3 separate regions of the Homo sapiens genome follow, and all the other regions are linked to region 3. The links are contacts of gene promoters, found by promoter capture Hi-C in blood cells and fetal thymus (Javierre and others, 2016). All regions are on one chromosome and are shown on one strand. Each heading gives the region's core, a stretch centred on a gene start or on the middle of the fragment in contact. The rest is flanking DNA. Distances are from core to core; before and after follow the strand shown. Region 1 overlaps PPP3CA (protein phosphatase 3 catalytic subunit alpha). Region 2 overlaps PPP3CA (protein phosphatase 3 catalytic subunit alpha). Region 3 holds the start of NFKB1 (nuclear factor kappa B subunit 1).

Region 1 (4,308 bases), core at 810-3,309, 1.2 Mb after region 3:
CACACAGTGGCATTTGAAAGGGAAGGGAAAGGAATTAGTATCAATTAATTCTTTGAAATGTATCTCTTTGTTTCAGATGATGTGGGACACCGGCTTGTGCAATGTGATATAAGAAGGGGGAACTCTTTAAGCCGTACAAAAACATGTATCAAGTGATTTGATATGTACAGGGGTTATAAATCTTGTATTCCATTTATTTACAGATTAGTGATATTAGATGTAAATCTATTTAGCAGGGAAAGTATAAGCAATTTATCTTTAATGGAAGGGATGGTTGGGAGGCCATAATCTCCTCTTCTACTACTTGATAAGATATGATTAAAGGAAAGCAAGTTAAGGATAATAATTATTTAAACATAATCCTTTATGTCAAAATTAATATTGCATGAATTTTGAATTCTATATTTACCTGAAAGAAACCTGTAAAATCTCGGTGCTGTGTGGACGTTACAGATTTTAGTGCATTGAGGTGTGAGACAGTGAGTACAGATAGAGGGAGACAAGATAGAGAATCCTTGTCTCCCATCAGTATTTGGGTTTGTGTTTGTGTGGTTTTCTTGCTGTTGTTAGAAACAATACGTTTCTTAAGAAGATGCCAAAAGAACTTGCTTTAGCAAGTTGACATCTATTGATGAATAAGTATGACATTTTAATCCCCATATTTTAAATGATGTTTGGTTACTATTTGTTTAAAAGCAACTGAATAAAAACATCTTCAGCTATCCAGATTCCAATCTGTACAGATGACTAATCATGTGGAATATTTGAACATAAAGGTTCTAGTGAAAAATAAAAATTAAAACAAAAAATGTAGTTGCTCCCAGATTTGAAAGTACAGAATGTTTTCTGTGCCTTTTAGATATGGGTAACTATGACATTGAAAACAATGGTAACCACGGGAAATGCACCTTACAAAATAAATAAGGGGAAAAAAAAAAGACATGGGGGTGGGGAGTAGGAAGGAGTTGGTGTAGTAACAGCTTAGTGAGTAAATAAATATTTAAACTTCATGCTTTGTTACTTGTGTAATCATGAGATTTGCAGAATTATGTTTTATATTACATTTTTAGTTGGTATCTTTTTTATCTTGTGTTAAATAATCTGTTAAGCCAAATTTAAGTACTGTTCAGAAACAAAAGCAAGTTACAAGCTTTGTGGGTGTTAATGTCTTCATGTGTAAAAAACCAGAAAATTGAATTAGATATATCCTAAGGTTTTTTCCAAGCTTTTAAATTCCATGATTCTGTGACCCAGGAGGTGTCCAGGAGTCATGTGAGTAAACTTTTAAGTTTTGAAGTAACGTTAACTCCAAGACTTGAAACCCTTGAAATTGGCTAGAAATCCTATACAAGATTTCCAGAAAGTTACCGTTATACTTCCTGATTACGCTTATGGATACAAATATAAAGCAAACAATAACCAAAGACACATAAAACAAACCCTGATTCTAGCAGTTTACGAAAAGAGGAAATTTATTAGAAGGTTCTGGGGGATCATTGTCCAGTAGAACTTTCTGTGATGAGGAAAATGTTTAGAGAATCTGAGCTATCCAGCATGGTAGTCAATAGTCATATGTGACTATTTAGCACTTGAAATATGTCTAGTTCAACTACAAGACTCGATTTTACATTTTATTTAGTTTTAATTAATTTAAATGTAAACTTTTAAGATTTAAAGGAATCCTGGGAGTAACCGAAACGTCGGTCTTGAGAAGAATAGGAAGAAACCAGGGTGGCCTTAGGAACTAAGAACTGCTTTGGAAGCAGTAGTGGTGTGTTCTTCAGAGTCATACCATGACTTAGTTATTAGTGGTACCCAACCTGGATTTATCAGATAACAATGGCATCTTCCAGGGAGAGAAAATCTGATTGTCTTTACATGAGTTTGGTGTCTACCCTCCAAATCAATCAACTGTAGGTTGGGTTGCAGAATGATTGCGTACCTGCCAGAGTGCTGACAGTTCCCAGGGAAGGAGGAAGTGGAGCCAGGCAGCAGTCTTAAGAGCGGTTTGCCACATTACTTAAGAGAAATATGTTTTTCCCTGCAAGCACTGATTTTTCTAACTTTAAAATACTCTTATTTTGTTAATTTACTTGTATTGCACCTGACTTATTTACCTTTTTTATTGCTAATTAAAAATACCACTCTATGTTGAGTAAACTTTTACTAACCTGAGAGACTAATGATTTATAACATTGTGTAGAAGGAAATCAAAGAACATTATAGCCAAAAGCAACAATATGAGCCATGCTAGACAATGCTCTCTTGTTACAGAGAGTATTGATACCAAGGCTTAGATGTTTTGCTATTTCAAGTCACGAAATTATTTGCCACATTAGGGATAGATACTTGCTTTAATCTGAACCTATGTTGTTGACCAGCTACATGTTAAAACCAAGTGTTTGAAAACCATCTTTTTGAAATTTGACGCTTTCCCGTAAATTTTTATTTTCCTGTAAAGTGGTAATACTAATAATTTGTGAGAAAACTGAGTAGTGCAGGTTTTGATTTTGAAGGGTTTTTTGTTTTGTTTTACATTTTTAAAACATGAAGAAAGAGCTTTGATTGAGAATGTGTTAATTGTATTATGTGAACCTATAAAATTAACTCTTATTATTTAATACATATGAACCAAATAATACTTGACCCAGATAAGTGAAGGATAGATAGAAAAGAAAGGCATTTACTTAAAATGGCTGCTTATTTTATCAAAGTTAGATTTCAAATTAGAGTTGGATGAGCTGTTTTAAAAGTCCATGCTAAATATGTTGGGGACTGCCCCGGAAACAGGTTTTCCTCCTCTGTGTAAATCAGCCATGTTTCTGTGGTGCGAGGTGGGTGGGAGCCTTGCTTTACTTCCTGCATCTCAGCAGGCTCAGGAAGGGAAGCTTGCTAGGGTGTTTAAGCAGCCACATGCATTATGTTAAATTAATTCTACCCCAGTCTTTGGACATCTATTGACAATAGTATTATTTGGGTTGCAAAATCAACAAGTGAATAGACCAAAGAAGAAATGGGGAAGAACCCAGAATGAGTGTGAGTCAAACACTACCTTGACACAGGAAGCCAGGACTAGAAGCCCTGAGATCAGTCCAATCCAGGGAATATGCTGACTGCGCTGTCATTTAGAACAGGCCAGTGGAATTCAGGACCTATCAGGTAAGTCCATGTCTTACCAACTTAAAGCAATCTTCTGGGAAGAGGTCTGGACCTGTATCTAACATGAATTGTAGTGAGGTCTGTCCATCACATTTCACTCATCTAATCACCTTTGTCATTCTTCTGGTTTTCACAGATAGGATAGAAAAACTGTAGTTTTTTTCTGTTGCCACTTAGCTCTTGGTTGCAGGGGCCTCTAGGTAGGTGTGAAGTGGTTATCAAGGCTTTGACTGTCAAAAACACTTCTACTCAAAATTGGCCTTAGCAGTTAAGCCAGATTTAAAATGATTTTGGTAGTGGATTATCTAAGCTCATATAGAATAACTGCAAGTCACTTTCAAACTTGCCATAGATGCGAAGATAATATATTCTCATTTTCTGGACTAGCTTTTCCCAGGAAAAGGTATGGGGTGGAGGGATATCAAATATCAATTTTTGTAGATATGGAAAGCTCCATGAATGTGTATTTATAGGCCCCCTGAGGTCTAACTGAATGTATGTTGAATGCAGATTCTTCTGTTTTCCTCCCCAGGTTTGTCATTTGGCAACTAGTACAGGAAAAAGACCCTCAATAACTAGCAAGTCTGTCTTTGTTATATGTAGACAAGCATTTTGATTAATTTAGGGAGGATGCTTTTTTCACTATATAAAATTAAAATGAAATTATGGAAGAACCTAGTTTGTTTTCTTACTTGAGTTGAATGCTGTTTAACCACTTTCTTATTACATTCGATTGACTTAGTTGAGTTGGATGCTGAATGTTTAACCACTTTCTTATTACATTTGATTGACTTAAAAACCATCTGTAGCATAGCCTAAATAACTTAAGACTTTCAGAAAGTTGTGGCAAATTTTTTTGATACATTCTCATTCATAGCCAACTCAATTATATTAACTTTTTATACAAATCAAATTATATTATAATCCATACACATTAAATTTCACTTAGACCAAAGAAGAGCCAAGGCTTCTTTACTGGATCTCACCCCCTCTTACGTATTTAAGAGCATTGCCCCAGGAAGTCCTCTTTTCTGCATCAGCATTTTCTATTCTTTGTTGGATCATACTCATTAGCAGAAGATGCCATAGTTTTTACTGTCTTGAAATAATAAAGCTTCTCCTGAGCCCATGTTCTTATCCAGCTACTGC
Region 2 (3,866 bases), core at 1,026-3,525, 1.2 Mb after region 3:
TGGGGTTTCAGAAATGATTCTTTCTCCTTAGAGGTTTACTCAGTTTTTAAAGTAATTTTTCTGTGTGAGTGGTGGTGGTGATGGGGGAAATTACGTTCCCTTTTTTCAGAAAGAACAAAATATCTTCTTTTGTTTTGGTTTTACTGGAATCATTCCTGCTTCAGCTTCGGTGCAGGATTCATATACCCATGAAAATAATGAGGAAATAGCTCTGCAAAAATGATTCGAAATAGGGCTGCAGAGAGATGCACAGCTATTTTATTTTTCCTGCAGGCATGGATTTTCATGGAAACAGTCCATTCACATTTATTTGAGAGAGCTGTGTTTTGCATGAAAGGCTTCTGTTGACATTTTCAAAAATTGAGACCCTTTGCAGAAATATCAGAGAATGACAATTATCTCCTTAATGTGTGAAGTTTAGATGTAGCTCCAATCTAGGTTAAGATCAAAACAATGTAAAGCTTATAATTCAAATGATACTAGTGAACGTGTTGGCAATTAAAAAAACACTTGTGCACACATAAGGTCACATTCCCTGTTTTAAATCATAGGATGTGGATTCTTAATGTAGGTGTAAAGTCATCAGGTGAACATGTAAAAATAAATGTTTATACTTTCTGGCTTAGTTTCTCTACTGCTTAAAATGGAAGAGCCCACTCAACCATTCCAAGGCTACTTTGCCTTGCTTTTTTTCAATACTGTACCATTATAAATGACTTTTCATTTTAGGTACACACACTCACCCATAATTTAAAAAATTTTATTCACATACTATGTGGATAGTAGACTCAAAATAGGAAAAGTTAATTTTGCATTTGTTTTGATAGAGATCCTGATGTGAGATGTGAAATGTGAAATTTTGTTTATAGAAGTTTTGTTGATGAATCCTGATTTTAAGGTGGATACACTGTTATTGTTTATCCTGTTTTCTTGTAGAATATTATTGGCATGAAAGGCATTATACAAGGTTGGATTCAACCTTTTGTCATACATAAGATTTTTATTATTAGTTATTTGAGATAATCTATTTTGATTATTAGCTTTCTGTGAAATAATATTTCCCCTTGAGTATGTATACACGTACTGAATGAATGGAAAGTACGCGTATGCTGGATGTGAAACATATTAACAAGTGATTTAATTTGCAAAAATTAGATAATATGGAGTTTAGAAACCATTATTTACTTGAAATTTTGTTAGAACTTCATCTCAATGGCTATTTAACTCATTCTTTAATACAGAAAAGAAATTATCTTTGAGGAAGTATTTGTGCTCCATAAGTTTTCTCTTTTTTACGAAGTATGTGTAGTATTATTTACTATATATACATACAAAAATAAATATTCAGATTGTTATTACCATGGCATGCCATGGCATTTGCTTACAGTTATATTTATTAGTGTCATCTGGCTTTTGTTGTATAAGAAATTGCTATTTACAAATAAAGATGTGCTTGTGGTTTGTAGTAATATGATGTGACTGTTTTCTTAATTGTACTTTTAGAATGCAGCTTTAGAGACGTAGGTTGAGTCTGTCTCAACTATGTTATTTTTGAGGTTTATAGAATCTGCTAGCATGTATTCAGAGACCCTGATCGGTTTTCTAAACCTTAAAAATGAAAGAGAATGATGGCAGTGGAGATGAAAAGTATTTGTTTAGATTATCCCAGGAGAGAAAGTTACTTCAGTTAGCAAAACTAGTGCTGTATCATTTTGACTCTTCTTGGATTAAAACAATGGAAAGTAGAAAAATTCAGAGAAAACATCTTGGTAATGACCTTTGCTGGAAATCAAAATAATATGGTCCGTTTATTGCTTTACATTATATTTTTAAAGATACATACAGCAAACCGAGGGCAATAAATAGAAGAATAACTGTCTTCCTCCCCTTGACCCCCGTCCTGATTTTTCTCTTAGTGATACTCTACAGGCCTTGTCTCAAACTTTGGCTTTTCTTCATTTCTCTCTGTTCCTGCCTAGAATGCTTTGTCTGGCCCTAGCATTCCCTATTGGTCATGGAACTTTGCTATGTGATAGTTAAAAATACTTAGAGGAAATTAAACCCTATGTGATAATGAGTATTTGGCTTTGTTAAATCTCTTAACCTACCTTCCCTCTGTTCCCATCTCCAAGTATTTTGTGATGGGACTTCTACCTTAACTCAAACCGATGGTAATGGTAGAAATTTTAGAAACTATGGGAGGCTGTTGAGGGATAAATTTCTGAGAAGAGTTTTGTGGAATCTCTCAGAAACTATAGATAATGCGTTGTTGTGCTTTGTGTAAGGTTGCTTTTGGCCATAGAGAATGAGCTGTTTTTCAGGTGTATTGCCAGCTTACGTACTTCATGTAGACAGAGTACACATAGGAGAATTCTGAAAGATGCTAAGATCATAGAAGCAAGAAGATGCTAGTTAAGTATTATTAAGTAAATAAGGATTCCAGCCACTAGTATTTCTAGCTGGGTGAGACTGATAATACTACTTAAAAAGAAAACAAATATGTCACATTCGTAGTAACTGTCGTGTTTAGACCTTGATGCAACAGAGTAGTAAATAATGTCATTTATTTGTGGTGTTCCAGGAAGAGCTTGTGAATTTATTTTACTGACATTTTGTTACCATCAGTTGAGTTTCATGTATCTGGTTTTCAATTTGAGTATAGTGAAACTTTATTAATTCAATATCATGAATTTAAATTTATTGTGAAAAAACACCAGTGTTTGTTGGCTGAAGTTTACATCAGCATTGGATGTGAAGAAAGGGGTCCGATAACCAAAAAGTATAAACAACATAGTTCCAGCATTGTTAATATACCAAGAGAACAAATTCTTTTCAATACTTAGTGAACAGTATGCAAATTCATCCTGTTCGTTACGAGTTAGGTTGGTCTATTTATTAACATTTCCTTTTGGGACTATTATAAAGTGAATATAACACAAGTGCATTGTTGTAAAAACATTCAGTAAATTTAATGATTAATGCAACAATTGAGACTGGGATTCAGGGGAATTCCAGTGATTCTAAAATGCCATCAATTAGAATAATCAACATTTTGAAGATAATAGTTTTTCTGAGAAGTGTGGGATAGAACCCTTATTTTAAATGGACAGTTTATCTTAAGACATCCAGTTAAAATAGGAAAAAATTAACATCTAGAATCTAATTAATGAGGTTTACTCTAAGATTTGTTTAAAAATATGCCTTTTAAAATCTATTTGTCTCTTTGTTTTATTTGTAATTTTAGCGAGATGAAATATAATTTTGATAGACCATTCATTTATAACTTTTGTAATTGGCCTCTCATGCTTTTCCTTATCTTTTTTTGTGTCAGCTATGTGTAAATTTGAAACTAATTATGACACCAAATAAAGAATCCATTTAGGGTGACCTCATTGGAAAACAGCATTTTTGCAGATACTCACTCTCCTTTTAGCAAATATGGTTAAATTACCATTTTGAATACTTCTAGAACTATGAAGAATGGTGGTGATTCATGATATAGAATTTTGATAATTACTAAAAATCATTTTGTCAATTTTTTTCCAGCAACTTTCTGATGTAGCAGTCTCTTGATATACAAGAGGGATATGGTGAGACCTTGAACTTCAGCTTTCTGTAATTCCACTGGTATATGTTATAACTTCACAGGCTAACTTTCTCTATACATAAAAGGGGAGTAATTGTATCCACTGTCAACTTGTGAGGACCGAAGGATAATCAAATGGGAAATGGGGAGTGTGTGGTTAACACTTTGTCCACTGCCTGGTAATGGCGATTCAGTCACTGCTAACACAGAATTAGAAATGACACGTGTTATGTATTTTCTGGTCACCTGAGAATAGTCAGAACCATTAGCATTGAAAGCC
Region 3 (4,178 bases), core at 1,179-3,678:
ATAATCACTAAATCTAAAATTCTGCCTATTTCAGATTAATTGTGCTTTAATCAACTCAATCAACACAGATCTTGTTTAAGAGGTAGAGTAAAAAGGAAGTGCAAAGATCAAAGCAATGCTTACAAAGGGGAAGGACTATTTTTGTATGTATACCCCCAGTATTTACTATCTGGGTTTGAAAAACACGGGCATTTACTCAGCACAAGTGAGTGCCAATGCCTAACATAAGAATGAAATTTCAGCAAAAAGATAATAGATTTTCACATCACCACCAACCCCTAAAAGGATTATACTACCTTCTTTAAAAAGTCTCAAAGAGTTTAGAAGTGGTTTGCTTTTCACTGCAAGCAGCTTTTCGGTTCCAGTATTAAATGTACATATAACGTGTGTTCCTTTGTGTTCAAGTTTGTCCAGTAGGCTGCAGCCCAGGAAGACATTTTATCTAAACAAGCAGGGGAGGGCATTTAGGAATTGCAGGTGTATCAATATGGATGAATAATCTCAGATTCCAAGTCTCCATTAATCGTACATGTTCTTTCCATTTTAGCAATTCAATTAAATCATGAATGTAAAATTCTACAGGAAACAAATCTTTTTATTTCCTGTCTTCCCAAGTTTATAAACTCAAAAAAGTACATTGCTTCAAATTTAAATACATACATTTAAATACATAATTCCTATAGTGCCTCAAACAGTAAAAGGATTCATCTCTAGAAAGCACAATATTAAAATCAGAAAAACAACATACTTTAGTTTTAAGTTTCCCTTTTAAAGTTTTAACAAACACGAATGCAGTTTAAACTGCTTGACAATATTCAGTTGTGGGATTCTGCTAGAAAAAAATTATTGAATATCTTGACCCTAACCTTTACTATTTACTAAAAGATCACCAGTATGTAGAATATTTTGATGCCAGAGCTATTAAATGTTTTAGTAATACCATAAGCATTTTTTCAGATTATGAGCTTTATAAAAAAATCTTTGAGTTAAATATGGTTATTTCATAAACTGTAATGCTGAAAACCTCTACTTAACAAAGTCCATGAACATGTCAATCTTGATAATTAAATCCTGTATCATTAAGTCCCATTTGAGTTTCAGGATAAACCAGCAAGTCAGGGCAAACATTCCCTGGTGTCTGTTTTTAAGGACCATAGAAAAACTTGCATTTAGGATAGGCCTTGTTTTTACATTATTTTTGTTTCAGCGGTCATGCATAATGCATGGTGGCACTGTCCAAGAGTTTTACATAATCAAGTCTAAAAAGTGCTCTAAGTATCCAGGTAGGTAATTTATTTTCTCTCTCAAATGCCAGGCCCCGGAGGATCAGAATCAAGTCCTATAGCAGGTGACTATATCGTGTGTGTGTGTGTGTGTGTGTGTGTGTGTGTGTGTGCGCGCGCGCGCGCGCACGGAGGGGGGGAGGGGGGAGAGAGAGAGAGACAGAGAGCGAGCCAGGTTTCTTTTAGAAGTAGGAGAGGGATGAATAGACTCTCCTATTCAATTCTGGGGAGCTGGGGAGGGCTTTCCCAGCCAAGAGGACTGACAAGCACTTCTGCTTTCATTTCATGGAACGCCCTTAGGTGAAATCTGGTTCTGCACTGCACCAACCACCTTCCCTCTCTCCTCCGCGCCGCAGCGCACTCCAACCTTCTCACCATCCCCCAGGTGGGGCTGGGGTTGGGGATTTTAAAAGTTTGTAAGAGTTCCCCTCCGGTTCGCGTTCCCGCCCCGCGGAGGGACGTGAAGAGAAATGACCGCCGGGCGGCCGCGGCCCTTCGGCCGACTAGCCCCTGCGAGGTCCGGATGTGTCTTTCCCCGCTGTCGCTAATCCCATGTGCCTCTCAGCTACTGTCAACCTCCTCCCACGGTCTAGCCCAGCGGTTAGCGCAGGAATGAGGAAGTCCGAGTGGGGCTGGAGGGGGTGCGGAGGGCTGGGCGGCAGGACTTGGGCCACGCGTCCCCTGCCGGGCCCCCACTCGCCCGAGTTTGGCTTACCCGGGTGGCGAGTCCGCGTTCGGCCTCCTGGCGCGGGTGGGCTCTCCCTCCTAAGCGGCGCGGGCCTGCCGGCTGGAGAAGGAAGAGGCGGCGGCAGGCCGGAGCCCGGGCGGGCCCGAGTGCGGGTCGGGGCGAGCGGGAGCGCGGCGGGGCCGGGCCAGGCCAGTCAGCGCCGCGCCATGGCCGCAGCGCGGGCGGAGGGAAGCGCAGGGCGCGCGGTGGCCGGGCGGCGGCGCCGCCTTACTGGCCGGGCGGCTGCGGCCTCGGCGGCGCTGGGCTCCGGGAGCGGGGCCGGTGGCTGCGTGCAGGCCGAGGGCTGCGGCGGCTGGCGGCCCGACCGACGGGAAGGGCAGGGGAAGCTGTCAGCGCGTCGCCGGGCCGCTCCGGTGGCGAAACCTCCTCTTCCTGCCCCGGCTCGCTGGTGCACTTCTCTCTCTTTCTGTCTCGCTCACTCTCTCACTTCCTGGCTGGAAATTCCCACTGACGTCGAGAGAGCATACAGACAGACGGACACACGCGCGCACGCAGCGGGGGCGGGAGGTAGGGTCGCTGCCGGGGGTGGGGGAAGCCCGCACTTCTAGGGGCGCTGTGCGCCCCCGGCCCGGCCTTGCCGCTCGCCTCGGCTCCCGCCCCTCGGGGCCGCTTCGGGGCGCCGGGCGAGGGGCGCGCGTTAGGCGGCCTGGACGCCGCGGCCCCTGCGGGGCTCTGGCTTCCTAGCAGGGCGCTCCCGAATCCCAAGGGCTGGAGCCGGTAGGGAAGCCCCCAGGAAGCGCCTGCCGGGCCCAATCAATGGTCGGGGAACGCAGGCAGCACGGAGGCGGCGGCGGTGGCAGTGCCGCTGATAGAGTCATGCGGTCCATAGCCCCTAAGGGCAGGCCCGAGCAGCTGGAGGGTCGGCATGGATCCAAGCATGCCAGATATAAAAATAAAGCTCATCTGTATATTCCATTTAAGCGTGTCTCAGTTACATTCACATCTCTTCACAGATTAAACTACAATTTCGTTATCATAAACGACTTGTGCCCAGTAAAGTATAACCCTCTACTGGTTTTTGGTGCGGTCTTAAATCTCCTGGTTATAGAGCAGTTACTCAGAATGTTCATCTACAAGGCATTGTTAGGCCTTTATGATAATTACTGTGGATAGAATTATAGTGATGGTGGTAGCAATGGTTTTGGTTCACAGCTCATAAAATACTGATCTGGCAGAGGGGAGTTTTCTTTTTCTCTGAAGAGACCGCTACTGGCACCCACTGACAGGCCTCCCAGTGGCCACCATTCACTGGCATCTGAGCTGCTTTAGTGCTGGGCACTGTATTAGGTACAGGCTGGGGATACCTTCGGGTGGATTACCTCCCCACATAAGAAAGCTTGAGCCGAAATATATATTTTAGAGCTCATTGTTTCACTACTGGGTGGAGTGACAACTGAAAGCTTAGCTTTAAAACATCAGTAATCAGGTCCTCACCAGGCAATATTGCAGTGGCATTTAGATTGCTTATGGCATGTTCATCCTAGTCCTTTCGTGCCCACTCTCCATCCTCCTCCTCCAGTAGGTTATAAAAACCTTCTTGGTGGAGTGTTTTTCTGGAAAAAAAAAATAAACAAAAAAAACCCACACACACAAAAACCCAGCGATCCATTTGATTGCCTATGAGGTGAGTCTCCGAGGCGACCTTGGAGGCCCCAACAGTCGACCTTTAAGTGATCTCATTTAGCTCCGGGAGGCTGAGCAGCTGGAATTTAGAGGATCCATAAAGACTGAACACAATGACTTTTTAAGAAATTCTGTGAGCCGGGTGCGGTGGCTCACACCTGTAATCCCAGCACTTTGGGAGGCCAAGGCGGGTGGATCCCCTGAGGTCAGGAGTTTGAGACCAGCCTGACCAATATGGTGAAACCCCATCTCTACTAACAATACAAAAAAATTAGCCGGGCGTGGTGGCGGGCGCCTGTAATCCCAGCTACTCCAGAGGCTGAGGCAGGAGAATCGCTTGAACCCTGGAGGCAGAGGTTGCAGTGAGCCAAGATTGCGCCACTGCACTCCAGCCTGGGCGAGACAGAGCGATACTCTGAGAAAGAAAGAAAGAGAGAGGGAGGGAGAGAGGGAGGGAGGGAGGGAGGTGTGAGCATACACACTCTACTTTTCATTCTGCAAGGGGTGGCAGCCCCATTACCAAA

What was found. The method cuts DNA at HindIII sites, captures the fragments that hold promoters and counts their contacts. A CHiCAGO score of 5 or more calls a contact.
Region 1: a contact is called between a fragment that was not itself captured here and the fragment with the promoter of NFKB1 in region 3, in 1 of 17 cell types (M0 macrophages). The highest score is 7.4, in M0 macrophages.
Region 2: a fragment that was not itself captured here is called in contact with the fragment with the promoter of NFKB1 in region 3 in 1 of 17 cell types (naive CD8 T cells); the score reaches 5.4 in naive CD8 T cells.

What each region holds. Positions count from the first base shown.
Region 1 is chr4:101,281,290-101,285,597 of GRCh38, reverse strand. The region is part of intron 1 of PPP3CA (protein phosphatase 3 catalytic subunit alpha); the gene reads left to right. Among named protein-coding and RNA genes, the nearest start is that of MIR8066, 43 kb to the right of the region's middle. The HindIII fragment of the contact is 1,663 bases long and covers 1,228-2,890 here.
Region 2 is chr4:101,341,471-101,345,336 of GRCh38, reverse strand. The region is part of intron 1 of PPP3CA (protein phosphatase 3 catalytic subunit alpha); the gene reads left to right. Among named protein-coding and RNA genes, the nearest start is that of PPP3CA, 4.1 kb to the left of the region's middle. The HindIII fragment of the contact is 3,623 bases long and covers 464-3,866 here.
Region 3 is chr4:102,499,609-102,503,786 of GRCh38, reverse strand. It overlaps NFKB1 (nuclear factor kappa B subunit 1), which reads right to left and starts at 2,428. Exons shown (of 24, transcript NM_003998.4): 1 at 1,999-2,428. It overlaps NFKB1-AS1 (NFKB1 antisense RNA 1), which reads left to right and starts at 1,301. Exons shown (of 5, transcript NR_136202.1): 1 at 1,301-1,348. RefSeq lists an enhancer at 1,749-1,798 and silencers at 1,909-2,478, 2,489-2,748. The HindIII fragment of the contact is 5,238 bases long and covers 1-3,369 here.